Linked DNA regions of Homo sapiens: all the other regions are linked to region 1. Evidence: promoter capture Hi-C in 16 types of primary human blood cells and fetal thymus (Javierre and others, 2016). All regions are on one chromosome and are shown on one strand. Each heading gives the region's core, a stretch centred on a gene start or on the middle of the fragment in contact. The rest is flanking DNA. Distances are from core to core; before and after follow the strand shown. Region 1 holds the start of HAMP (hepcidin antimicrobial peptide). Region 2 has its middle 14 kb from the start of LINC01531. Region 3 has its middle 30 kb from the start of FXYD5. Region 4 holds the start of LOC105372379 (a long non-coding RNA gene).

Region 1 (4,022 bases), core at 1,007-3,506:
AAAGCAGAAGGGGGTGCAGAGGATGGCAGGGGGCCCAGTGGACCTCTGAGACTGGCTCCCGGCAACCTGCTCCTCTCCAAGTGGTTTAAACCCAGAGCTCAAATGGACTCTTAGGAGGGGCCTTGCTTTCTTGCTTCTGCTCACCTTCCCATGGGCGGCTTTTCCTAAAAAAAAAAACCTCCCAGATCCGCCTCCTCCTCTTTCCACAGCTGCTACTCTTCTTTGGGATATCACCTTCCCCTGCCTGGATGCCAGTGCCAGCCTCCTAACACACCTCCCTGCATTCTTGCCCCTCAATCCATTTGCCACACAGCAGAGTCACTTTTTTTGTTTGTTTTTTAGACAGAGTCTTCCTCTGTTGCCCAGGCCAGAGTGCAGTGGCACAGTCATAGCTCCCTGCAGCCTTGACCTCCTGTGCTCAAGCGATGCTCCCGCCTCAGCTTCCCGAGTAGCTGGGACAGCAGGTGCACGCCACCACACCCGGCTAATTTTTTAATTTTTTGTAGAGGTGGGGTCTGGTTGTGTTGCCCAAGCTGGTCTTGAACTCCTGGGCTCAACTGATCTTCCTACCTTGGCCTCCCAAAACTCTGGGATTACAGGTGTGAGCCATGGTGCCTGACTGGCAGATTAAGTTTTTTAAAACATGGCCAGTGAGATTGTGGTTTTCTCCATTTTAAAAACCTACAGGAGGCTGGGCGCAGTGGCTCACGCCTGTAATCCCAGCACTTTGGGAAGCCGAGGTGGGAGAATCACCTGAGGTCAGGAGTTCAAGACCAGTCTGGCCAACATGGTGAAACCCTGTCTCTACTAAAAAAACAAAAATTAGCCGGGCGTGGTGGCAGCCGCCTGTAATCCCAGCTGCTCGGGAAGCTGAGGCAGGAGAATTGCTTGAACCCGGGAGGCGGAGGTTGCAGTGAGCCCAGATGATGCCACTGCACACCAGCCTGAACGACAGAGCGAGACCCTATCTCAGAAAAAAAAAAAAAAGCTTATGGGGGCTTCCTCTTTATTCCAAGGAAAAATCAGTGTCTGCATGGTTGCCCACAAGACTTAGGGACTGCCCACCCCTCAGCCTTATCCCCAAGTCCCACCATCTCCTCTTGTTCAGCCTGACCCTGGGCTATGCTGGCTTGTCCTCTCCTTAGGTCTTTGCTGCCTCCATCTCTCACCCTCCAAGACGAAGGTCAACTGTCACTTTCTCATGAAACACTTGCTTGACTGCCAGCCCCTTGACCATGCCTGTGGTCCCCCAACCCGTGGCATGTGCCTGCTGTCCCAGCTACTTGGGACGCTGAGGTGGGAGGATTGCTTGAGCACAGGAGGTTGAGGCTGCAGTGAACTATGACTGCACCACTGCACTCCAGCCTCAGCAACAGAGGAAGACCCTGTCTCTAAAAAACAAACCAAAAAAGTGACTCTACTGTGTGGCGAATGGGTCACGGTCACTCTACCACTGTCTGTTATGAGATTCACGAATAGAATGTACTAGACACAATTATTTATTCATGTTTTCATCAGTCTTTAACAAATTCCCTGACCAGGATGGAGAAATCTCCTCTCTCATCTACCTTGTTCATGGCCTCGTCCCCACTGTCTAGAATAAGACTCCACACGGCGTAGGGGTTCCGTAAATACCCATGGAATTAGGACCTTCCAGTCCCTGTCACTCGGTGCTTCATTGATTTCTGTTCTTTTTTGGAGATGGAGTCTTGCTCTGTTGCCAGGCTGGAGTGCAGTGGTGCAATCTCAGCTCACTGTGCAACCTCCACCTTGCGGGTTCAAGCAATTCTCCTGCCTCAGTCTCCCGAGTAGCTGGGATTACAGGCACCTGCCACCAAGCCTGGCTAACTTTTGTATTTTTAGTAGAGACGGGGTTTTACCATGTTGGCCAGGCTGGTCTCAAACTGACCTCAAGTGGGCTGCCTGCCTCAACCTCCCAAAGTGCTGGGATTACAGGCATGAGCCACCGTGCCTGTCCTGGTTCCTGTTCAGCTGCCAGTACTCCTGAGACGTCCTGAGCTCTGCTCAGTGCTCGGGTGTCTCCAGTGCCCTAGGCTGAGGCCTGGCTCTCCCATCCCTGCTGCCCTGCTAAGGACCCAGGCCACTGGGCTCTCACCTGTTGTGGGAAAACAGAGCCACTGGTCAGGCTGGCGAGGAGGAGGAGGAGCAGGAGGCAAGCGGCCCAGATCTGGGAGCTCAGTGCCATCGTGCCGTCTGTCTGGCTGTCCCACTGCTGGGTCTTGAGCTTGCTCTGGTGTCTGGGACCGAGTGACAGTCGCTTTTATGGGGCCTGCCAGGGGAGGCGGTGGTCTGAGCCCCCTCCCCTTTGCTCTGTCTCATTTCCAAGAAGGTGGTGGCGCCGAAAAGGCGGGAGAGATAAGCGGGAACAGAGCGACAGGGAACAGGGTTGTGTCACCCTCAGCCGGCAGAGGTGTGTTCAGGGGGTGGGGCAGACGGGGTCACAGACACACACTGCTCACCAGCCATCTGGGGAGCCCTTTCCCCATCACGATGTCATTCTGCTGATCGGGAAAAAAGTTCCCCCTTTTGCTTCAGCGGTTAAGCAGTTTGATGAGCAGAATCAAGGTTCCGCTCTCCTCCACTCACTTCCCCATCGCCTACATGCACACGGGGCATGGCCAGCAGCCGCCAGGCTCCTCAGGAGTGTCTGGCATGTTGGGGGAAGCATCCATTGCTTTAAGCTCTCACCACACGTGCATAGGTTCTGGCAGGGAACACTAGATAGCCCTGAGCAGGGCAAGCATCAGCGTGTGCCCGATCCGCACGTGGTGTTTTCCCAGTGTCAGACCCTTGAGATGTGGCTCTGGTAACTGGAAAATGTTTGAGCAAACTTTTGGCCATAAATGACAGCAGTAATATGGCCCAGCACAGTGGCTTATGCCTGTAATCCCAGCAATTTGGGAGGCCAAGGCAGGAGGGTCGCTTGAGCCCAGAAGTTCAAGACTAGCCTGGGCAACATAGGGAGACCCCATCTCTACAAAAAAAATTTTAAACAAATTTAGCCAGGCGTGGTGGCACACATCTGTAGTCCCAGCTACTTGGGAGGCTGAGGCAGATCGCTTAAGCCCAGGAGGCTGAGGTTGCAGTGAGCTATGATTGTGTGACTGCACTCCAGCCTGGGTGACAGAGTGAGACCCTGTCTATAAAACATAAAATAGCAGTAATAGTAATAGCTAACATCTACAGTCCGATGAGTACATTTTATACGATGGCACATATGTTGACTCACTTCTGCACCAACTCAGCCTGTGCTGCCTGTTCTCCCAGCAGCACTTACTGCCCCACCTTCAGCTCTGCTCTGTATTCAGGGGCTGCCTTCTCAGTCACCCAACCCCAGAGGCCTGGGCTCCCCAGACCCTGCTCCCTTTTAGGAACCTCCTCCCCGTCGGACACTCATTTCCTTCACTTTACAGAAAAGGCACTGAAGGCAGAGATCAGGGCATGGCCCAAGCTTGCTCAGCCAGAGGCAGAGCTGAGATTCTAGCCTGGACAGCCTGACTCCAGGGCTTTTGCTCTTACCCACCAGGTTTCCCCATCTCCCCTAAAACACAGCAGGGCACAGCGGTATGCTAGACCTGGCTCAACATAGCAGACCATGCACATCTCGAAACTCTGCATTCAGTGGCATCATGCTGGTATCCTGAAATCAGCAGCAGTGGGAGTCTTGACACCCAGAAATTGGCAAGCACTACAAGCCAGGGATGTTTTTGGGGAGCCGGTTCCTTAGGACACCACTAGCTGGGGGATGAACCCAGGCTGCCTGACTGCAGTGCCTTCATTCCTTTCCACTACCAGGCCCAGCTCAGGGTGCACACGGCCCAGGGGATCAACAAACCTTGGTTCCAGATGGGCCCTTGCACATTTTGCCTCTTTGCCTTTTTCATTCCAGGGCCATCCAGTGTCAGCCAAGTCACCAGAGCCCGGGGATGTTGTTGTCGAGGAATGAACACTTCTTCCTGGTTGCTGAACCACTTTCAAGGCCCACTCAAGCACAGAAATGC
Region 2 (4,022 bases), core at 466-2,965, 110 kb before region 1:
AAAAGAGATAACCTATGAAAAACATTACAATCAACAAAGTAAAAGGCCACTATCCTTCTACTTATACACCTGATATGAGGTTTGTAAGCCAATATTCAAAGAACTCCTGTAAGTCAAATAAGAACAAAGCAAGTATTGGGAGAAACACAAATGACTCTACACAATATGTAAATATTGTCTATCTCATTTTTAATCTGGGAGATTAATATGAAAATAATACAGAGTATGACGGTTAATTTTATGTGTTGGCTTGGCCACGCCACAGTGCCCAGATATTTGGTGAAACGTTATTCTGGGTGTTGCTGTGAGGGTGTTTTTGGATGAGATTGACATTTACATTGGTGGACTCTGAGCAAAGCAGATTGCCCTCCAAAATGTGGGGGACTCCTCCAGTCACTGAAGGCCTGAACAGCACAAAAGGCTGACCTCCACATGCAAAAGAGAATTCTCCTGCATGCTGGATTCAGACTTTGTCTGCAGCAGTGGGTCTTCCTGGCTCACCAGCAGGCTCTCTTTAGACTCAACCACAACTTCTTCCTGAGCCTCGAGTCAGCCAGCTTCCTCCGTCAGATTTTGGGCTCATCAAGCATTCACAATCACATGAGCCAATTCCTTAAATAAATCTCTTTATACACACATGCAGACATGCAGACACACACACACACACACACAAACACACACACAGAAACACACAGACACACACACGGAGACACACAGTAACACACAGACACACACATGGACACACACACAGACATGCACACAGAAACACAGAGACACACACAGACACAGAGAGATATACACACACACAGAGAGACACACAGACCCACAAAAACACACAGAGACACACAGAAACACATACAAACATGCACACAGAAACACATACACAGAGACACACATTAACACACAGAGCCACAAACATACATGCACACAGACGCACACAGAGACATACAGACACACACATGGAGACACATATACAGACACACACAAAAACACACACAGAGAGAAACACACACACAGACATGCACACAGAGACACACATAGAGACACAGACAGAGACACACATACAAAAACATACAGAGACACACAGAGGTACACACACACAGAGACACACACAGACATGCACAGAGACACACACACAGATACATACACAGACACACACACAGACACACACACACCGCAGAGACACACATACACACACAGACACATGCACAGAGACACAGACACACAGACACACCCACAGACACACATACACACACTCTATTGGTTCTGTTTCTCTGGAAATCCCAGACTAATACTTAAGTTTCTAAATTCTAAATATCATCTCAAAAAATTAAAATACAATATTTTCTCTTGTCAGCAGAGTTATGGGGTCTCTTACAGACTGTTGGGGAAGAAAGGGTTGACTCAGCCGGGGAAGGTAATTCATCGATATTTATCAAAGCTTTACATGTACATATCATTTAATTCAACAGTACGACTTGTAGGAAATGCACAGTGCACGTGCCTTTATGTAAAAGGATGTTCTCATAGCATTATTTATAATAGTAGAAAATTAGAGATATTTTTAAAAAATCATTCATTCATTTATTCACCATCAAATGCCCAGTCTGTGCTAGGCACGGTTTTAGGCACCCACTGGGTATATAGTGACAAAGAAAACTGACGTGGTGACTGCTGTCATGGGCTTCTCAGTCTAGTAGGAGTCACGTTAAACAAATGAACACACACATACAAACATCAAACCATGAGAGCGCAGTGTGAGATAATATCAGAAGGGGGCTACTTGATATTGGATGATCAGGGAAAGCCTCTCTAAGGCGTGACATTGGACAGAAACTTGGAAGAAGTGGGGAACTAGCCAGGTAAAGAGTGGAAGGCATGGTGCATGCAGACATTCAGAGCTTGGCCTGCTCAAGGGACAGAGAGAAGTCCAGGCCAGAAGAGCGATGTCAGTGACACTTCTCTGGGGATGGCCCCAGAGAAGCTTGGAGAGAGAGGCAGGGCCTCAAAGGCTGTGAGGAGGAGGCCAGAATGGAAAGCCATTGAAAAGTTTTATTCAGGGCAATGACAGGATCCAATTTATATTCCTCATGAAACTGGCCTGATTGTCCCATAGATGCTTCTTTTGGATCAACGTAGAAATTCACCCTTCTTTTTTTTTTTTTTTTTTTTTTTTTAGATGGAGTCTTTCTCTGTTGCCCAGGCTGGAGTGCAGTGGTGCGATCTTGGCTCACTACAACCTCTGCTTCCCAGGTTCAAGCAATTCTCCTGCCTCAGTCTCCTGAGTAGCTGGGACTACAGGCACATGCCACCAAACCCGGCTAATTTTTTGTATTTTTAGTAGAGACAGGGTTTCACTGTGTTAGCCAGGATGGCCTTGATCTCCTGACCTCGTGATCCACCCACCTCGGGCTCCCAAAGTGCTGGGATTACAGGCATGAGCCACTGTGCCTGGCCCCCTCCTGGTCTTAAAGTTTGAAGCCTGCATTTGTCTTATCTGAGTTCTTGCCACAGGAAATCAACGAATTGAAACTCACCAGATCACTGCATCCAGACAATGAGATGCCAGACCCCTCATCCCTCCTGATTTCCTTATCCCTCCCTAATTCCTTTGACCAACTCCTCTTCCTTACCTCTCCCTAACTCTGGTTTTCCCACATGTAGTTACATTTCTTCCCTGCTGTATAACCCCCTGATTTTAGTTGACTAGGGAGATGGATTTGAGACTGATCCCCATTTTCCTTGGCTAAAGCACTCAATTAAAGCCTTCTTCCCAGGCAGTACTCATTGTCTTGGTGATTGGCTTTCTGTGCAGTGAGCAACGGGACCTAGACTGGAGCCCTGGCATTTCAGTAACAGATTTTGGTTCCCTACCTGGGAACACATTGCTTGTGGCTCAGCTGCTGCAGACTGGGACTTTCAGAAGCCCCCTGTACAGCTGTCTGACCTTTTTTTGGCTGGAGGTGGGTTTCCATCTTTTTCTCTTTGGCTCTGCTGCTGCCAGCCCCAAATGTATTGCTGATTGCCTAGGAAGAACAGACTTTGAAATTTGATATCTGTGTCTGGATGGATGAGTGTCTTTTCTGGGTTCCAGACAGCAGGAAGGGCTCCTCTCAATTTGGGAATTTTCTAAGGAATTTCCATTTGCAGGTTGAATAAGCCCAAATGATGGAGGGAGGAAAGCACCATGACTGTTTCAGTTTGGACACTCTTGGGGCTTGTTAGTGAGAACTAAGCTCTGATTTTTAAAATCTTGCCCAAATTCCTATCTAAGGGGTCTAGAGAAGTCATGCTCTACAAACCATAAATTCTCATCAGATTTTTGTTGTTGTTGTTGAGACAGTCTTACTCTGTTGCCCAGGCTGGAGTGCAATGGTGCGATCTCAGCTCACTGCAACCTCTGCCTCCTGGGTTCAAGCAATTCTCCTGCCTCAGCCTCACGAGTAGCTGGAATTACAGGTGCCTGCCACTACGCCCTGCCAATTTTTGTATTTTTCGTAGAGATGGGGTTTCACCATAATGGCCAGGCTGTTCTCGAACTCCTGACCTCAGGTGATCTGCCTGCCTCAGCCTCCAAAAGTGCAGGGATTACAAGCGTGAGCCACCATGCCCAGCCCAGATGGGTTTTATTTAACTTACATATTGTGACTTACTTTCCAATCTTACTCTGGTATAACATTACACGACAAAGAAGAAAGTCATAATATTTTACCCCAAAACATGTTTCTTTGCCATATTTTGAAATGGCCCTGCAAAGTTGTCCTTTGTGGGGGGGAAATGTGCATCTGTAAAGAATCTCTATTAACATAGCTAGATCTTTTTCTTTCAGGCCCTCCCAATCCTGAAGAGATTAACTAAGAGTCTAGCACCTTTTAAAGGTCTGAATAGGAAACATTTGTCAACTATTGTTTCTAAGGGCAGCCACTGTAAGACTTCAAAAGAACCTTGGTCTCCACAATCTTTTAACCTGAACATTTCCTTTCTATGATCCCAGGTCTTTAGACAAACTCAACCAATTGTCA
Region 3 (4,022 bases), core at 425-2,924, 98 kb after region 1:
ATTTGGGAACAGGAGGAAAATAGCTATGGAGCATTGGGTTTCTTTTGTGGGGGTGATAAAAATATTTTAAAATTGGTCTGGGCACGGTGGCTCACACCTGTAATCCCAGCGCTTTGGGAGGCCGAGGCAGGTGGATCACGAGGTCAGGAGATCGAGACAATCCTGGCTAACATGGTGAAATCCCGGCTCTACTAAAAATACAAAAAATTAGCTGGGCGTGGTGGCGGGCACCTGTAGTCCCAGCTACTCGGGAGGCTGAGGCAGGAGAAAGGCGTAAACCCGGGAGGCCAAGTTTGCAGTGAGCCGTGATCATGCCACTGCACTCCAGCCTGGGTGACAGAGCAAGACTCTCTCTCAAAAAAAAAAAATGTTTTTAAATTGATCGTGATGATGGCTGTACATATCTATGGATATACTAAAAACCATTGACTTGTACATGATTTTTAAAAATTTTTAATTGCTGTGGGTACATCATAGGTGTATTTATTTATGGAGAACATGAGATGTTTTGATACAGGCATGCAATGTGAAATAATCAGATCGGCTTGTATGCTTTAAATGTGTGAACTGTATGGCATGTGAATTGTATGGTAAGCGAATTCTATTACAAAAATTAAAAAATTAAAATAAGAAAAAAGAGTTGCCCTTTCCATGACAGGAACAGTTCAATGTGGCTGGGCGCAGTGGCTCACACCTGTAATCCCAACATTTTGGGAGGCTGCGATGGGTGGAACACCTGAGGTCAGCAGTTTGAGACCAGCCTGGCCAACATGATGAAACCCTGTCTTCACTAAAAATATGAAAATTAGCTGGGTGTGGTGATGGATGCCTATAATCCCAGCTACTCAGGAGGCTGAGGCAGGAGAATCTCTTGAACCTGGGAGGTGGAGGTTGCAATGAGCCGAGATTGTTCCATTGCACTCAAGCCTAGGTGACAAGAGCGAGACTCTGTCTCAAAAAAGAAAAGAAAATTAAAAAAGAGACAGTTCGACGTAATTAATTAGCCATCAGCAGACTGGTTGATTGTCCTGAGGAATGGTGCAATAAATCATTGCTAATTATAGTCATCCTACAGTGCTAAGGAATGCTGGAAGTTATTTTTCCTATCTAGCTGTAATTGTGTATCCATTTGCCAACATCTTCCTATCCCCTTCAACCCCTATCCAGCCTCTAGTAACCACTATTACATTCTCTACTTCTATGATATCAACTTTCTTAGCTTCCACATATGAATGAGAATATGTGGTATTTATCTTCCCATGCTTGGCTTAATTCACCTAACATAATGTCTTACAGGCTCATTAATGTTGCCACAAATGACAAGATTTCATTATTTTTACGGTGGAATAGTATTCCATTGTGTATCTGTACCACATTTTCTTTATCCATTCATCTCTTGAAAAACACTTACGTTGATTCCATATCTTGGCTATTGAGAATGGTGCTGCAAGTCTGCCAGACTCAGAACTTACCCACCTAGACAGATCAAGCAAGAGTTTAGTAGGCTCCCCCATCTATTTCATTTCGAGGCATACCATGATAAAGTAGTGAATGCCAAAGGTCTCTTTGAGTCACATTATTCTTATTACTATTTTGACTTCACTATCAACTATAGTAACCATGCTTACCTTATCTTTGGCATATAAGTACAGATATCTCTTTGACATACTCATTTCCTGTCCTCTGAATATATACCCTAGAGTGTATTGCTGGATCATAGATAGGATAGTTCTATTTTTAGGTGTTTTTAAGGAGCCTCCATACTGTTTTCCAGTATGATTGTACTAATTTACATTTCCACCAACAGTGTATAAGAGTTCCTTTTCCTCTGCATCCTTGCCAGCTTTTGTTATTTTTTCTCTTTGATAACAGCCATTCTAAGTGGAGTGAGATGATATCTTATTGTAGTATCAATTTGCATTTGCCAGATGATTAATGATGTTGAATATTTTTCATATATACTTGTTGGTCATTTGTATGTCTTCTTTTGAGAAATGCCTATTCAGATAATTTGCTGATTTACTACTCCTTGAGGATTTCTTGTAAGGCTACTTTAGTGGTAATAAATTCCCTCAGTTTTTGCTTGTCTGGGAAAGACTTTATGACTCCTTCATTTCTAAAGGATAGATTTGCTGTTACAGTATTCTTGGCTGCCAGGTTTTTTTCTTTCATCACTTAGAATATATCATCCCATTCGCTCCTGTAATATAAGGTTTCTGCTGAGAAGTCTTCTATTAGTCTAATGGGGATTCCCTTATATGTGACTTGATGCTTTTCTCTTGCTGTTTTTCAAATTCCCTCATGGTCTTCAACTTTTGACAGTTTGACCAGAATGTGCTACAGAGAGGACCTTTTTGGGTTGAATCTATTTGGGGACTTTTGAGCATCCTGAATCTGGATGTCCATACCTTTCCCGAGACTTTGGAAGTTCTCAGCTATTACTTTATTACATAGGATTTCTGTGTCTTTTCTCATCTCTTTTCCTTTTGGAAATTGGAATATCTGTTTGCTTAACAATGTCCCATAGGTCTTGTAGGCTTCCTTCATTCTTTTTTATTTTATTTTTTGTCTGATTGAGTTATTTCAAAAGAGACCTGTCTTCAAGTTTAGAAATTCTTTCTTCTGCTTGACCTAGTTTGTTGTTGAAGCTCTCAATTATATTTTAAATTTCATTTATTGGCCGGGATCGGTGGCTCACGCCTGTAATTCTAGCACTTTGGGAGGCTGAGGTGGGCAGATCACCAGGTCAGGAGTTCGAGACCAGCCTGGCCAACATGGCGAAACCCCGTCTCTACTAAAAATACAAAAATTAGCTGGGCATGGTGGCAGGGGCCTGTAATCCCAGCTACTCAGTAGGTTGGGGCAGAAGAATTGCTTGAACCTGGGAGGCAGAGGTTGCAGTGAGCCAAGATCATGCCATTGCACTCCAGCCTGGGTGACAAGAGCAAGACTCTGTTTCAAAAAAAAAAAAAAAAAAATCATTTATTAAGTCTTCAGCTCCAAAATTTATGTGTTTTTTTTTATGATATCCATCTCTTTACTGATTTTTTTTCATTCTGATCATGAACTGTTTTCCTGATTTTTTTGGGCGGGGGATGTTGTCTCACTCTGTTGCCCAGGCTGGAGTACGGTGGCACGACCTTGGCTCACTGCAACCTCCGCCTCCAGGGTTCAAACGATTCTTCTGCCTCAGCCTCCCAAGTAGCTGGGACTATAGGCATGCACCATCATGCCTGGCTAGTTTTTGTATTTTTAGTAGAGACATGGTTTTGCCATGTTGGCCAGGATGCTCTCAAATTCCTGACTTCAGGTGATCCACCCACCTCGGCCTCCCGAAGTGCTGGGATTACAGGCGTGAGCCACCGCGCCCAGCCCTGTTTTCCTGATTTTGTTGAATTGTCTATTTGTATTCTCTTGTATCCCATCAAATTTCCTTATGATCACTTGAATTCTTTTTTGGGAATTGCACAGATGTTCTTTTCTTTGGGGTCTATTATTGGAGGATTATTGTGTTCCTTTAGAGGTGTCATGTTTTCTTGCTTTTTCATGTTTCTTGTGTTCCTACACATCTGGTATAATAGCTACCTCTTCCAATTTGATGGAGTAACTTTCATAAGTAAAGACTTTTTCCTGTATATGTACCCTATAGTGTCGGTTGTGTAGGATGCTTTGGCTGTGGTTCTAGATAAACACAGTAGTATGATCTCCATGTGATTTCTTTGGCTGTAATTAATGTCAGCAGTGTCTGTGAATACTTCAGTGGCCTAATATTCAGGTGTTTAAGGAGGCAGTGGTGTGGCTTTGCTGGAGGAAGGAGCTGGGTGAACCCTAGGGAAGTGTGCACTGGGCATGGTGGCTCTGCTAGTTGTGAGGCAGCATTGCCATCACTGTTGGGCACCAGGCAGGCAAGTCCTTGGTCCCTGAGGGATTTGCACATTGGTTCCCCATGTTTTGGGGGCTGCCACCCTGCTGTGATAGATTGCCTGTTCCCTGGGGTGTGGGGCACTGTATGAGTTCAAATG
Region 4 (4,022 bases), core at 725-3,224, 78 kb after region 1:
AGAACCAATCACCAACAAGAAGACAGGAGAACTATGCCTGGCTTAGATCACTCAGAGGCTGAGGGTACTTTTTCTGAACACATGGTCAGAGCTAATAAACAGGCTAATAAAATTAAGGCTCTGCTTACAAAGAAGTAAAGGAAAATGGGCTTGCTTATTAATAATGCAGATTCCCAATTCCTGCTGCTAGTTGCACGGCTGCTTCTGTAGACACTCTGCCTCCGTCTGGCCTGGCACTTTGATCTTGTTTTTATGCCTCAGGATGAACGAACCTCAAACACCCAGGCTTCTTAGAATAGAAGGTCCTAGAGGAGGAGTGGTTTCTGAGAGAAGGAAGCACCTGCCCGCATCTCTTAAAAGGAAAGTACCTAAGCTTGACTGCCTGCTTATCTTTGAGGTTTTATTATCAATCAGGCCTTCTGGCACAAGTGATTAAAACCCAAACTAGCTTAAGTACAAAGAGAATGTATTGGTTCTTAGAATGGAAAGTCTCGGATTTCAGGTATGGCTGGATCCAGGTGCCCCTGCAATACACTCAGGATTATGCCTCTCTCCCTCTCACCTCTGCTGTCCTCAATATTGACTTCATTTTCATGCAGCAAAGATGACCTCCAGCAGTTCCAGGCTTAGAGCATAGCAGATAAGTAACCATAGCAGAAAAAGAAACACCACTTTCCCAATAGTTCCAGCAAAAGTCCTGCAGCTGTCTCTCATTGGCTTTACTTGGAATGGCGTGTTCATTTCTGGATCTGGGAAATGTAGTTGGCTGTGTCCGAATCACATAGACTAAGAGCAGGGGAGGCTGGTTCCCAAAGAAAATGAGAAGGGTAAACGAATGCCCGTCAGGCTAATCTCTCTCTTGTGTGTAGAGAGAGCCCCGGAGAGCATCAACCTGTCCTGTTTTACCATGAAGAGCATTCAAAAGCTAACAGGGTGATAGGGGTTTAGTAAGTTGGGAGTGGTCAGGGAGAGGTCTTGGAAGAGACAGTGTTGAAAGCAAAGCCTTGAGAGATAAGAAGTCAGTGTTTTAGGCGGCAGGACCTGTGAGGGCAAAACACCTGAGAAAAATCAATATTTGACAAATGAGTGGCTAAATGAATGAATGAATGAGTGAATGATTAAATGAATGAGTGGGTGAATGACTATAGACAGACACTGTAGACAAAGAGCCCCATCTTCTTGCTCAGAAGGACCCACCAGCCCCTGTAGTAATGGGAGAGCTGGAGTTGGGCTGCAGACCTTGCAGGGAAAATGGAGAGGGAGAGAAGGAGGAGGGGAGAGGAGGGAAGGAGGGAAAGAGCCACTCGGACTCCGCAGGAGCCAGGAGGAAGGGCCAGATGGACCCTACCTGGGAGACTACATCCAACGTTTCTCTCCTTGAGGGTCCTGGGCTGCCTGGAAACCCTCCCCTCTCCACAGCCTCCATTCCCTGCCCCTTCCCTCCCCCGCCTTACTCTCACTTCCTCTTTTCTGTTCCTCTTGCATACCAAGCTAGCTCTCGTCTCAGGCCTTTGTGCTTGCTGTTCCCTCTGCCTGGAACACCCTTCTCTAAGAACTTCACAGCCCTCAGGTCTCAGCCAAGAGTCCCCTCCACCAAGCAGCCCTCCCTGACCACCCCAACTGAATTACCCATCCCTCTACGCCCACAGCCTCTTCCAAATCACACCACCCTGCATACCTTCCTCTCTCTGAAAATGTCATGTTTGTGAATCTGTTGTGGTCACAGTTGTCACCCTGTCAGAGGCGTTTGAACCAGAGCAACCCCATCTTGAGTAGGGGCCAGGTAAAATGAGGCTGAGACTTACTGGGCTGCATCCCCAGATGGTTAAGGCATTCTGAGTCACAGGGTGAGATAGGAGGTCAACACAAGATGCAGGTCATAAAGACCTTGCTGATAAAACAGGATGCAATAAAGAAGCCAGATAATACCCATCAAAACCAAGATGGCCACGAGAGTGACCTCTGGTCGTCCTCACTGCTACACTCCCACCAGCGCCATGACAGTTTACAAATACCATGGCGATGTCGGGAAGTTACCCTCTATGGTCTAAAAAGGGGAGAAATGAATAATCCACCCCTTGTGTAGCATATCATCAAGAAATAACCATAAAAATGGGCAACCAGCAGTCCTCGGGGCTGCTCTGTCTATGGAGTAGCCATTCTTTATTCCTTTATTTTCCTAATAAACTTGCTTTCACTTTATGGACCTGCCCTGAATTCTCTCTTGTGGGAATCCAAGAACCCTCTCTTGGGGTCTGGATCGGGACTCCTTTCCTGTAACACTATTATTACTGACTTATGAATATTCTAGGGTTGTTGCGAAGTCTGGGTGCGAGTCAGGCACAGTGTTTACCTGCTTGGCCCTGCAGTGTCCAGCCAGGTTCGTGGCCTCCTGCCTCTGTGACCCTGTTCAAGTGACCTCCCTGCTCTGGGACTGTCTGTTCCCCCATAATATGGAGACCTCTATATTGCTCTTCTATACCTCATGTCTGTCTTTTACACACACACACACACACACACGTGTGTGTGCATGGCTGTGGTGCAGGTTTAATGACCTCATGCAGATGTCTAGAGCATGGTTCTAGGCAGAAAATGGAAAAGTATTTATAATATAATTAGTTCAACCAGCTACAATATAGACAGGGGTTTCCTGGCAGGCCATGTGACTTCAGTAATGGCCTGGGTCTGGCTTCGCCTTTAACCCTCTTCCTAGCCTCCCCTCAGCTCTCAAGGGTCAGCTAGGGGCCATCGCCCTGCATGTAGGGAGGCTGGACGGCAGAAAGCATGAACCCCATGATGCTCCCTGTCCTGCCCTGCCCATGCTGTCACCAAGTGGGGCAGCTAGACTGAAAGGGCTTCCACAACTCTGGGGTGGGCACCAACAGCCAGGGGAGCTGGAGATTGAAGGGTAACATTGCAGACTGGAATAGGAAGTTCCCTGGCCTCCAAGCCAGGCCTCACTAGGACTCTCCTGCCCTCAAATCTGGAAGCTCAGTGTCTTCACCCTTTAGGTCTCTGGGGGATAGGAGACAGAGACTTAGGAGGGTCCAGGGGAAAAGAATTTCCAAGTAATAACATGGAAAATAAAACAAAGCTACTAAACCAAAGGATATTGCTATCAACCACAGTAGCTTTCACACTTTTGTTGTTAACTGTAAGAGAGTCATTTGACATCACAACCTAGAATATATACTTTGAACCAAAAATAAAATCCTGAGCCCCCCAACTAACTAAGTGGACCCCCTTCTGGGCCAAAGGGACCCCAGAGACATCTGAACAACTGAATTCTAGCCATGAAGAAATGGGAGGTGCACATGCCTCATTCTAGCCCCTCCCTTCTGGAGTTTAGGCCCAACTGACCAACATTAACATTAAAATACAGATCACAGGACTGACAGAGTAGACTCTTTATGGCAATCAGATCCCAAATTCCAAGCTGACCCTGGTCACATGTTCTCTGAGCGCTGCCACTTAGGAGACTTCATCTGCATAACAAGGGCCTTGTCTTCTACAACCCCTTATGTTAGCTCAAGCATTCTTTTCTAAGGACTTCTTCAGTCTTTAGGCAAAGCTTAACTCTTCCAACCAAATGGCAATCAGAAAGTCTTTGAATCCGCCTGTAAGCCCTGTTCCCCACCCTCTGACTCAAGATATCCCACCTCTTTAGGCTGAACCAATGTACACCTTCCGTGTATTGATTTATGTCTTTGCCTGTAACTCCTGTCTCCCTAAAATGTATAAAACCAAACTGTAACCTGACCCCCTCAGGCACATGTTCTCAGGATCTCTTGAGACTGTACCCCAGGCCATGGCCACTCTTATAGGCTCAGAATAAACCTCTTTAAATATTTCACAAAGTTTGGCTTTTCTGTCAACAATACACACTCACAATAAGAGTTTACCAAAGTAACACTTACTTAAGGCTGGAGACAAACTCTGATACTCTGAAATTTCTTTTTTCTTCTACTTAATTCCATTTCAGAAAAAAATTGCTGGTTAGGACCTTCTAAATTGATCTCATG

Evidence for each region. Contacts are between HindIII fragments. The CHiCAGO score rates a contact against its expected background, and 5 or more counts as called.
Region 2: a fragment that was not itself captured here is called in contact with the fragment with the promoter of HAMP in region 1 in 2 of 17 cell types (monocytes and naive B cells); the score reaches 8.1 in monocytes.
Region 3: a contact is called between a fragment that was not itself captured here and the fragment with the promoter of HAMP in region 1, in 3 of 17 cell types (total B cells, monocytes and naive B cells). The highest score is 7.4, in total B cells.
Region 4: a contact is called between a fragment that was not itself captured here and the fragment with the promoter of HAMP in region 1, in 2 of 17 cell types (total B cells and monocytes). The highest score is 6.2, in total B cells.

Annotation. Positions count from the first base shown.
Region 1 is chr19:35,280,762-35,284,783 of GRCh38, reverse strand. It overlaps HAMP (hepcidin antimicrobial peptide), which reads right to left and starts at 2,256. Exons shown (of 3, transcript NM_021175.4): 1 at 2,117-2,256. The coding sequence starts at 2,206. RefSeq lists enhancers at 1,885-2,394, 3,781-3,830, 3,921-4,000. The HindIII fragment of the contact is 2,484 bases long and covers 991-3,474 here.
Region 2 is chr19:35,390,047-35,394,068 of GRCh38, reverse strand. No RefSeq gene overlaps it. Among named protein-coding and RNA genes, the nearest start is that of LINC01531, 14 kb to the left of the region's middle. The HindIII fragment of the contact is 543 bases long and covers 1,444-1,986 here.
Region 3 is chr19:35,182,655-35,186,676 of GRCh38, reverse strand. No RefSeq gene overlaps it. Among named protein-coding and RNA genes, the nearest start is that of FXYD5, 30 kb to the right of the region's middle. The HindIII fragment of the contact is 8,299 bases long and covers 1-4,022 here.
Region 4 is chr19:35,202,933-35,206,954 of GRCh38, reverse strand. It overlaps LOC105372379 (a long non-coding RNA gene), which reads right to left and starts at 1,834. Exons shown (of 3, transcript XR_935938.2): 1 at 1,679-1,834; 2 at 563-802. RefSeq lists enhancers at 1,175-1,344, 2,320-2,837, 2,838-3,355, 3,356-3,873. The HindIII fragment of the contact is 3,198 bases long and covers 376-3,573 here.